Linked DNA regions of Homo sapiens: all the other regions are linked to region 1. Evidence: promoter capture Hi-C in human tissues and cell types (Jung and others, 2019). All regions are on one chromosome and are shown on one strand. Each heading gives the region's core, a stretch centred on a gene start or on the middle of the fragment in contact. The rest is flanking DNA. Distances are from core to core; before and after follow the strand shown. Region 1 holds the start of TARS2 (threonyl-tRNA synthetase 2, mitochondrial). Region 2 overlaps GOLPH3L (golgi phosphoprotein 3 like). Region 3 overlaps HORMAD1 (HORMA domain containing 1).

What was found. Contacts are between HindIII fragments. The study calls those that stand out against the background at their distance.
Region 2: a contact is called between a fragment that was not itself captured here and the fragment with the promoter of TARS2 in region 1, in 1 of the 25 tissues and cell types used here (spleen).
Region 3: a fragment that was not itself captured here is called in contact with the fragment with the promoter of TARS2 in region 1 in 2 of the 25 tissues and cell types used here (H1 embryonic stem cells and dorsolateral prefrontal cortex).

What each region holds. Positions count from the first base shown.
Region 1 is chr1:150,485,495-150,488,670 of GRCh38, reverse strand. It overlaps TARS2 (threonyl-tRNA synthetase 2, mitochondrial), which reads right to left and starts at 1,252. Exons shown (of 18, transcript NM_025150.5): 1 at 1,155-1,252; 2 at 617-813. The coding sequence starts at 1,220. RefSeq lists enhancers at 1,158-1,427, 921-1,427. The HindIII fragment of the contact is 6,321 bases long and covers 1-3,176 here.
Region 2 is chr1:150,659,841-150,663,072 of GRCh38, reverse strand. It overlaps GOLPH3L (golgi phosphoprotein 3 like), which reads left to right. Exons shown (of 5, transcript NM_018178.6): 4 at 1,145-1,259. Among named protein-coding and RNA genes, the nearest start is that of ENSA, 32 kb to the right of the region's middle. The HindIII fragment of the contact is 4,476 bases long and covers 1-3,232 here.
Region 3 is chr1:150,713,763-150,716,673 of GRCh38, reverse strand. It overlaps HORMAD1 (HORMA domain containing 1), which reads left to right. Exons shown (of 15, transcript NM_032132.5): 4 at 1,996-2,059; 5 at 2,553-2,589. Among named protein-coding and RNA genes, the nearest start is that of HORMAD1, 5.7 kb to the left of the region's middle. The HindIII fragment of the contact is 6,232 bases long and covers 1-2,911 here.

The sequences.
Region 1 (3,176 bases), core at 3-2,502:
TTGAAATAGTCCCAACACAAAGAAATGATAAATGTTTGGGGTAACAGATATCCTGAACACCCTGATTTGATCATTACATATTGTATGCATATATCAAAATATCACATATACCCATTCATATGTTCAATTATTATGTATCAATTATTAAAAAGTAAATTAATGATTTAAAACAGACAGGGTTACAATCCACAGTGGGGAGAAAGTTGCTCATCTCTCAGCAACTGTAAACTTGCAAAGGTGAAATGAGTTACCAGAGCAACAGAAGCTTTCATTTCTTTCCCCAATGAAAGGACAGAGACTCTGATGCAGAAACTAATACAGATAAAACAAATCTCAGGCCGGGTTTGGTGGCTCATGCCTGTAATCCCAGCACTTCGGGAGGCTGAGATGGAAGGATCGCTTGAGCCCAGGAGTTCAAGACTAGCCTGGGCAACATGGAGAGACCCCGTCTGTATAAAAGAACAACAACAAAAAACAAAAACAAAATCTTCAGGAAAGGCTATCTTAATGGGGACGGAACAGAAACAAGCAGACCAAGTTTTCTTCCCCTGCTCAAGTGAAGAGAAAGTAAAGGGGCAGAAGGATAATCCTGGTAGTTACAGGATGGGCCTGTTACCTGATCTGCCGGGCTAGTTGGTAGGGGGTTGTGTTCCATGCCACAGCATCAATTTTCTGGCCTCCAGGAAGTGATATCTTAATAGTCCGGGGTTCCTTCTGTGCCATGCTTGCTAATCTCTTTACCTGAGCAGCCCACAGCTCCTCAAAAAGGCCAAGCCGCTCTGCCAACCAGCGTGGAGGGGTCGACACAACTGCCTGGAGGGAAAGATATATTAGCAGGTAACACACGTCCCATCATTCTTTCTTAGAATTGCAGATGATGGCACTTTGGGATGGTTAAGTGGACTTCGTCCGAATTCCTACTTTTTAAGGGGATTGGGTGATACAAGACCCTAGGCTGGGGGTCCTTCGAGCTCAGAGTCCCCCAGACCGCTAACTCGAGAATTAGATAACGAGTTTAGATACGAGTCCTTTTCTGGGGACTCGGAGGACCAGGGAGAGGAGGAGTGGCGTGAGGCTGGGTTAACATAAAAATTTGGGGGCTTCGGCTGGGCTAAGTCTGATGCGGATCGGAGCTTTGGGGGTGCCTCACGCACCGTGTGTAGCCTGCAAGCCTGTAAACCTTGGAGCCGGAGACACCGCCACCTCTGATACAGGGCCATGTTCCTTCACACCAGTGCCTACATCCTCAAACAGATTATCGCCGCTTCTCCTCCACGTAATTCTTCATTGGCTTCTGGTCCAACAAAGTCCGTGTCTATTGGTTACTACAGCTGCCACTCTAGTCTGGCACCACCTCCAGGAACTCCGAAGAGGTACACCCTACACAGCACCAGCAGCGGTGTGAGTGGTTCCGGCTGACCGGAAGACCGAAAATGTAACACACCCTCGCTATTCCCCCAGACCCGTGGCGTTTCAGCTGAAACCCAAAAATAGCAATTAGGCGTCCTGTGGCTTTGAGGACAAGGGCAGGTGAACTTTTGAGGGCGAGAGTGGGAGAAAACCAGACAGGAAATGGTAGTAATTTCCCTTTAACTATACATTTTATTTTACGTGGTCCTTACAGCAAGTAGCAAAACTTAAGAGCATAGACTGGGGAACCAGACAGACCTAGTGTAAATTCTGGATCTGCCATTAACTATGTAATTTTGGGAAAATTATTAAACTTCTCATATTTATTTAATAGAGACCGGGGGGGGCGGGAGGGGGGGGCGGGTCTCACTATGTTGGCCAGGGTAGTCTCGAACTCCTGGCCTCAAGCAATCCCTCCCCTCCCCCCCACCAAACCGCCACCGCGCTCCGGCCTCCCAGAGTTCTGGAATTACAGGCATGAGCCGCCTTGCCTGACCTATTTAATTTCTCTAAGCCTCAATTTTCTCAACTATAAAATGAGAATAGTGTTGCTCCCAATTGTTGAGTTAAATTTTATGTAAATCGTCTAGTGTGGCCCATGGTTTTTTGGTAATGGGCAAAAGCAACAAGAAGCTATTATGATAAATGACTGTAACAGTTTTATTTTTTAATTTTGAGACAAGGTCTCACCGTTGCCCAGGCTGGAGTGCAGGGGTACAATCATGGCTCACTGCAGTCTCGACCTCCTGGGCTCAACTGACCACCTCAGCCTCTGGAGTAACCACTTTAAAGCTGGAGCAAAGATGGCCGCGCGCAGTGGCTCACGCTGTAATCCCAGCACTTTGGGAGGCCGAGGCAGGTGGATCACCTGAGGTCAGGAGTTCTAGACCAGCCTGGCCAACATGGTGAAACCCCGTCTCTACTAAAAATACAAAAATTAGCTGGGCGTGGTGGTGGGCGCCTGTAATCCCAGCTACTTGGGAGGCCGAGGCGGGTGGATCACCTGAGGTCAGGAGTTCTAGACCAGCCTGGCCAACATGGTGAAACCCCGTCTCTACTAAAAATACAAAAATTAGCTGGGCATGGTGGTGGGCGCCTGTAATCCCAGCTACTTGGGAGGCTGAGACAGGAGAATCGCTTGAACCCGGGAGGTGGAGGTTGCAGTGAGCCGAGATCACGCCATGCACTCCAGCCTGGGGGACAAGAGCGAGACTTCATCTCAAAACAAAACAAAAACAAAAAAGCTGGAATCAAGAATCTGCAGAGGTCAGTTTGAGTCCCTTTATACTCATGGTGCTTAATAGGGACTTTATAGACCTTTTAATCTTTTTTTTTTTTTTTTGAGATGGAGTTTCACTCTTGTTGCCCAGGCTGGAGTGCAGTGGCGTGATCTCGGCTTACCGCAACCTCCGCCTCCCCAGGTTCAAGCGCTTCTCCTGCCTCAGCCTCCCGAGTAGCTGGGATTACAGGCATGTGCCACCCCAGGCCCAGCTAATTTTGTATTTTTAGTAGAGACAGGGTTTCTCCATGTTGGTCAGGCTGGTCCCGAACTCCCAGCATCAGGTGATCCGCCTGCCTCAGCCTCCCAAAGTGCTGGGATTACAGGCGTGAGCCACCATGCCCGGCCGAGACCTTTTAATCTGACAGATGAGGAATTTAAGGTCAAACAGCAAGTGCTGATGGTGATTTCTGAATCCAAGCTTGGTTTTCTTTTACCACACCATGCTTTCTCTAGAAGAGTTTGCTCCCAGTATACTCCCCCATCA
Region 2 (3,232 bases), core at 685-3,184, 170 kb before region 1:
ACAGTGCAAGACTCCGTCTCTAAAAAAAAAAAATTACGAAATAGAGTATGATGTAGGGAGAGGGACTCATATGGGTCAGGTCAGTCATTGATTAACCCTGGTTATTCTCCAATAATATTCTGTTTCCTTCCATTTACTGCAAGTCCTTTCCAACCATACTCCTGTATCCATTTTCTTACTGAATTTTTCCACTCACAACTTCTTTATCATCCTAAGCACTCCACTTAAACTACATTCTTAGGTATCACCAGCTTCTTTTCAGTCTTTGATTTATTTTTCTCTTTTAACCTATATGTGTCATTTGACACTTTTTATCACTTTGAAACTTTCTTCATTATTGGCCTTTGTTATTATCTTATTCTCTTGCTTCTCTGACTATACACTGTTTCCTTACTTCTCCATTTCTTAACATCCAAGTCTCAGTTTGTATCACTTGAGTGATCTTCTGTCCTTTCAGAGATATCATTTACCTTTATAGCTTCGTCTGTCACCTTCATGAGATTAATTTTCAAATTTCTAGGCAGGTCTTGTTTTTCCACCTCCAGAAACATATTTAACTATTGGCTAGAAATTTCAACTTGGCTATCCCATATCATTTAAAACCAAACTTAACAAAAATGAAAGAAAACCAAATTATCAACCTTTCCCCAAAACTGACTTCCTTTTCTGACTTTCCTGCCTTTGTTTATTTATTTATTTATTTATTTAAATTTTTATTTTTTTAATAGAGAAAAGATTTTGCCATTTTGCCCAGGCTGGTCTCAAACTCCTGAGCTCAGGTGATCCACCCGCCTCAGCCTCCCAAAGTGCTAAGATTACAGGCATGAGCCACTGAGCCCAGCTGTTTCCTACCTTTATTAATGGTTTCAAAAGTTGGTTTCCAGACTCAAAATGAGTTGTTATTGAAACTTTTCTCCATTATCATTCATATCCAGTTTGTCACTAGGGCCCACTTCAAATGTTATTTTTGTCTTTGCACTATCACTCCATACTATATTTTAAACTTCTTGAGGACAGAGACAGTATATTATGCTTCCTTACATTCTTGCAATTTTTAACCAGTAACATATACATGATATATTGAAAGATTTTAACTTGAATGAAGTGAAGGAATCAGGGTTCCTTCTTTCTCCTTTTCTCAAAGGTACTGCTAAAGTCAGACAGCCCAACAGGTGATGTTTTACTGGATGAAACTCTGAAACACATCAAAGCAACTGAACCCACAGAAACTGTCCAAACATGGATAGAGCTACTCACTGGTAAGATGACTTAAAATAATATATGAATTTCACACTTTGTTATCTTTATCCTACCCTGAAATTTAGTAAAAGATGTACCGAAATTCATCGTGCTGGATGAGATAGATGTGGTTCACTATTTAATTCTAATGAGGGACAGAAAAAGCATGGTTAATTGATACCTAAAGTTTTCCAAAGCTTCACCTTATCTTCTGCCACCCCACCCCAAAAGCCCTTAAATAGTATTCTTCACAAGAAACTTTTAAAACATCTTTATTGAGAGGACAATGAGAATATTGGCATTGATGCAGTCTATTATTCTTATTAGAATTTCCCAGTTTTAATTTGCCAAATAATATTTTATTGCATGGCCATACCACATTTGTTTATCCAGTCATCAGTTGATGAATCTTTGAGTTATTTCCACATTTTGGGTATTGTGAATAATGCTGCTGTGAACACGCACGGACAAGTTTTTGTTTGAACATGTTTTCATTTCTTGTGGGTATGTAGCTAGGAGTAGATAACTGGGTCATATGTAAATCAACGAGTAACATTCTTACTGTGGTAAAATATACATAACATTTATTATTATTATTATTATTTCGAGATGGAGTCTTGCTCTGTCGTCCAGGCTGGAGTACAGTGATGCAATCTCAGCTCACTGCAACCTCTGCCTCCCGGGTTCAAGCAATTCTCCTGCCTCAGCCTCCCAAGTAGCTGGGATTACAGGCACGTGCCACCACGCCTGGCTAATTTTTGTATTCTTAGTAGAGACAGGGTTTCACCATATTGGCCAGGCTTGTCTCGAACTCTTGACTTCGTGATCTGCCCGCCTTGGCCTCCCAAAGTGCTGGGATTACAGGCGTGAGCCACCGCGCCCAGCCAACATTTATTATTATTTTAGCCATTCTTAAGTGTACAATTCTGTGAAATTAAATATATTTGCAATATTTTGTAACCGTCACCTCTATCTATACTATACCCAAAGCTTCCTCATCATTACCCATTAAAACTCTGTACCTATTAAATGATAACTTCCTCTTTCTCTCTCCCCCCAGTCCCTGGCAACCTCTATTCTACTTTCTTTTTCTATGAATTTGCTTACTCTAGGTACCTCATATAAGTAGAATCATACAATATCTGTCATTACTTTCCCTAGCTTATTCACCAAGCATAATGTTTTCAAGGTCCATTCATGTCACAGCATATATCAAAATTTCATTCCTGTTTATGGCTGAGTGATATTCCGTTGTATGTATATAACACTTTCGTTTAACCATTCATCTGTTGATGGACACTTGCCTTGTTTCCACCTTTTGGCTATTGTGAATAATGCTGCTGTGAACATTGATACACAAATATCTGTTCAAGTTCCTGTTTTTAATTCTTTTGGATATATACCTAGGAATAGAATTGCTGGGTCATATAGCAGTTTTATGTTTAACCTTTTGAGAAATCACCAAACATTTCCACAGAGACTGCACCATTTTATATTCCCACCAGTATGCACCAGGGTTCCAATTTGTCCACATGCTGATCACCACTTGTTCTTCTCTTTCTTTTCTTTTTTTTAATTATAGACATCCGAGTAGGCCTAAAATGTTATCTCATTGTGGTTTTGATTTTTATTTTCAAATGAAAATAGTTTTCATGTCATTCCTAATGACTAAAAATATTGAGCATATTTTTATGTGCTTACTGACCATTTATATATCTTCTTTGGAGAAATATAAAATACTTTTCCCATTTTTAAGTTTGATTGTTTTGTTGTTGTTGAGGTTTTTTTGTATTTATTTATGAGATGCGGTCTCACTCTGTCACCCAGGATGGAGTGCCGTGGTGCAATCTCGGCTCACTGCAACCTCTATCTCCCGGGCTCAAGGATCCTCCCACCTCAGCCTCCCAAGTAACTGGGACTATGGGTGCGCACCATCACACCTGGCTAATTTTTTGTGTTTTTGGTGGAGATGGGGTTTTGCTATGTCACCCAG
Region 3 (2,911 bases), core at 205-2,704, 230 kb before region 1:
TGATTTTTAATAAATTAACAGATTTGTACAACCATCACCACAGTCAATTTTAGAACATTTCTTCATCCCAAGAAGAAACTCCATACCCCTTAAGGCACTGTGCACTTCCCCTCAACCTTCCCAGTCCTAGGCAATCACCAATCTACTTTCTGTCTGTACAGATTTACTTACTCTGGACATTTCATATAAATGAAATAATATAAAATGTGGTCCTGGCCGGGTGCAGTGGCTCACGCCTGTAATCCCAGCACTTTGGGAGGCCGAGGCGGGCGGATCACAAAGTCAAGAGATGGAGACCATCCTGGCCAACATGGTGAAACCCCGTCTCTACTAAAAATACAAAAATTAGCCGGGCATGGTGGTGCATGCCTGTAGTCCCAGCTACTTGGGAGGCTGAGCAGGAGAATCGCTTGAACCCGGGAGGCGGAGGTTGCAGTGAGCCGAGATTGTGCCACTGCACTCCAGCCTGGCAACAGAGCAAGACTCAGTCTCAAAAAAAAAAAAAAAAAAAAAAAAAAAAAAAGTGGTCCTTTGTGACTGGCTTTCACTTAGCATGTTTTCAAGGTTCCTCCGTATTGTAGCATGGATCAGTGCTTCATCCCTTTTTGTTGCTGAATAATGTTCTATTGCATGGCTGTACCACATTTTATTTATCCCTTTATTAGTTGATGAACATTTGGGTTCTCTTTTTGGCTATTATGAATAATGCCGCACTGATGTACAAGTTTTTGTTTTTGTTTGGATAACTAAATGGTTTTAAAATATATACATATATATATATATTCAATACCTTTAGAAGCACTTAATCATAAAATTTTTCCTCAGTTTCTCAAGTATAATTTTACCTGAAATTATGCTTATAATGATGAAAGAAATCAATAGAAAACATACAGTAGTAGTGTATGTTCTTGTGCTATTTTAAGGAAGTAAAAATAATACAGCCAGGGCCAGGCGTGGAAGCTCACGTCTGTAATCCCAGCACTTTGGGAGGCTGAGGCAGGAGGATCACTTGAGGCCAGGAATTCAAGACCAGCCTGGTCAACATAAGGAGACTCCATCTCTATTTTTTAAATTAAAATAATAATAATAATACAGCCAGTTTATACTACAATAATAACTTATTTCTCAGTACATTATACATGCATAATATTGTACACCAGTTATGTGCTGGGCAATATGTTAAGCACTATGTTATATACGATATCTTGTTAATTCATGTAGCAGTCTTACAAATACCTGTTTTTCAATTAAGGTACCTGAGGATATGAGAGACTCTCAGTCTTTTCCACTGTGTTACATGTTGCTTCTTTGCAGGCCTCTTTGTTTTTGATAGCCCGTTAAGTTCTTGGCCTTTACAAGTATTTTACTGGGATAAGATTCTAAGATTCTTGTATAACAATGGCATGAAAGCAACATATCTAATTTCATGGATTCTATAAGTTTTTTATGAAATATTTTTGTACCCATCAGCTTGCATCCTAATTATTATGATGGCATCTTATAATAAATATTAAAATACTACTTTCATATAACCTTTCTTCCTTTAATTACATTAATAATATTAATTATTGCTATTAATAATTTACCTGTGCTGGGCAAGGTGGCTCACGCCTGTAATCCCAGCACTTTGGGAGGTTGAGGCAGGCGGGTCACCTGAGGTCAGGAGTTCGAGACTAGTCTGCCCAACATGAGGAAACCCTGTCTCTACCAAAAAATACAAAAATTAGCCGGTCATGGTGGCGCACCTGAAGTCCCAGCTACTGGGGAGGCTGAGGTGGGAGAATGGCTTGAACTCGGAAGGCAGAAGTTCCAGTGAGCCGAGATCATGTCACCGCACTCCATCCTGGGTGATAGAGTGAGACCCTGTCTCAAAATAATAATAATTATAATAATAATTTACCTGTAATACACAGCAGAAGAAAATAAACTTCATTTAAAATTTCTAGTTGTTTACTTTTCTTAAGTAACTCTATATTTCATCATTTTTGTGTTTAGATCTTTGTGTCAAAATACTGAGAGAAGATAAAAATTGCCCAGGATCTACACAGTTAGTGAAATGGCAAGTAAAAGAATACCTAAAGAGAGAAAATTATTTTTTTCTCATTTTACTTTTTTTTGTACCTTGGATACCTTTGGTGTTTAACCAAATTTTAGTGAATCACCCTTTAATGCTAGATAGCATTTTTGTAGGTCATTAAATTTTCCACCGAAGTTTTCCTCTCCTTGAAGTCTGGGTATTTGGAAAAATAAATTTTAAAAATAAATGTTTCTTTATTTTGTGCCCCATGCAAGCAGGCTTTATTTATTTTATTATTGTTCCCCACAAATAGCTGTCAGATATTTTGTATTTTCCCTTCCATCTCTATCATCATTTTACATTTCTGCCACATTGTTTTTTATGTTTTGTCTTGTTTTAAGCTAGTTAATAAGAAGGGAGCTTTAATAAGACATTTTTGTATTATTTAGTAATGAGATAATATGGAAATTTATGAAAATAACTATTTTCTGGAAATGCATTCAGTCTAAAAATGAATCCTTGATTTTTTTTTTAGGATGCTAGGATGTTATGATGCTTTACAGAAAAAATATGTAAGTCTTGCAATCTCTTTATCCTTTTTTTTCTACAGTTTATGATCTACAAATATAACTGGAGTTATGATGTAGTAAAACATTCATTTGAACTAACTTGAGTGTAGGTCAGTCTGAATTACTGAAAAGCCTAAACATTTGAATATTTTAAAGACTAATCATCAACTCATTTAAAGATAATGGAATTAACACTAAACAAATTTTTCCAAGCTAGTTTTTTTAACACTTATTTGTATTAATAACACGTGTTAACTTACAAAAAAGTTAATGAATTAAAGAGTCTTTTCAAATAGTTTATTCATTAGTTTCACATGCCTTCTAC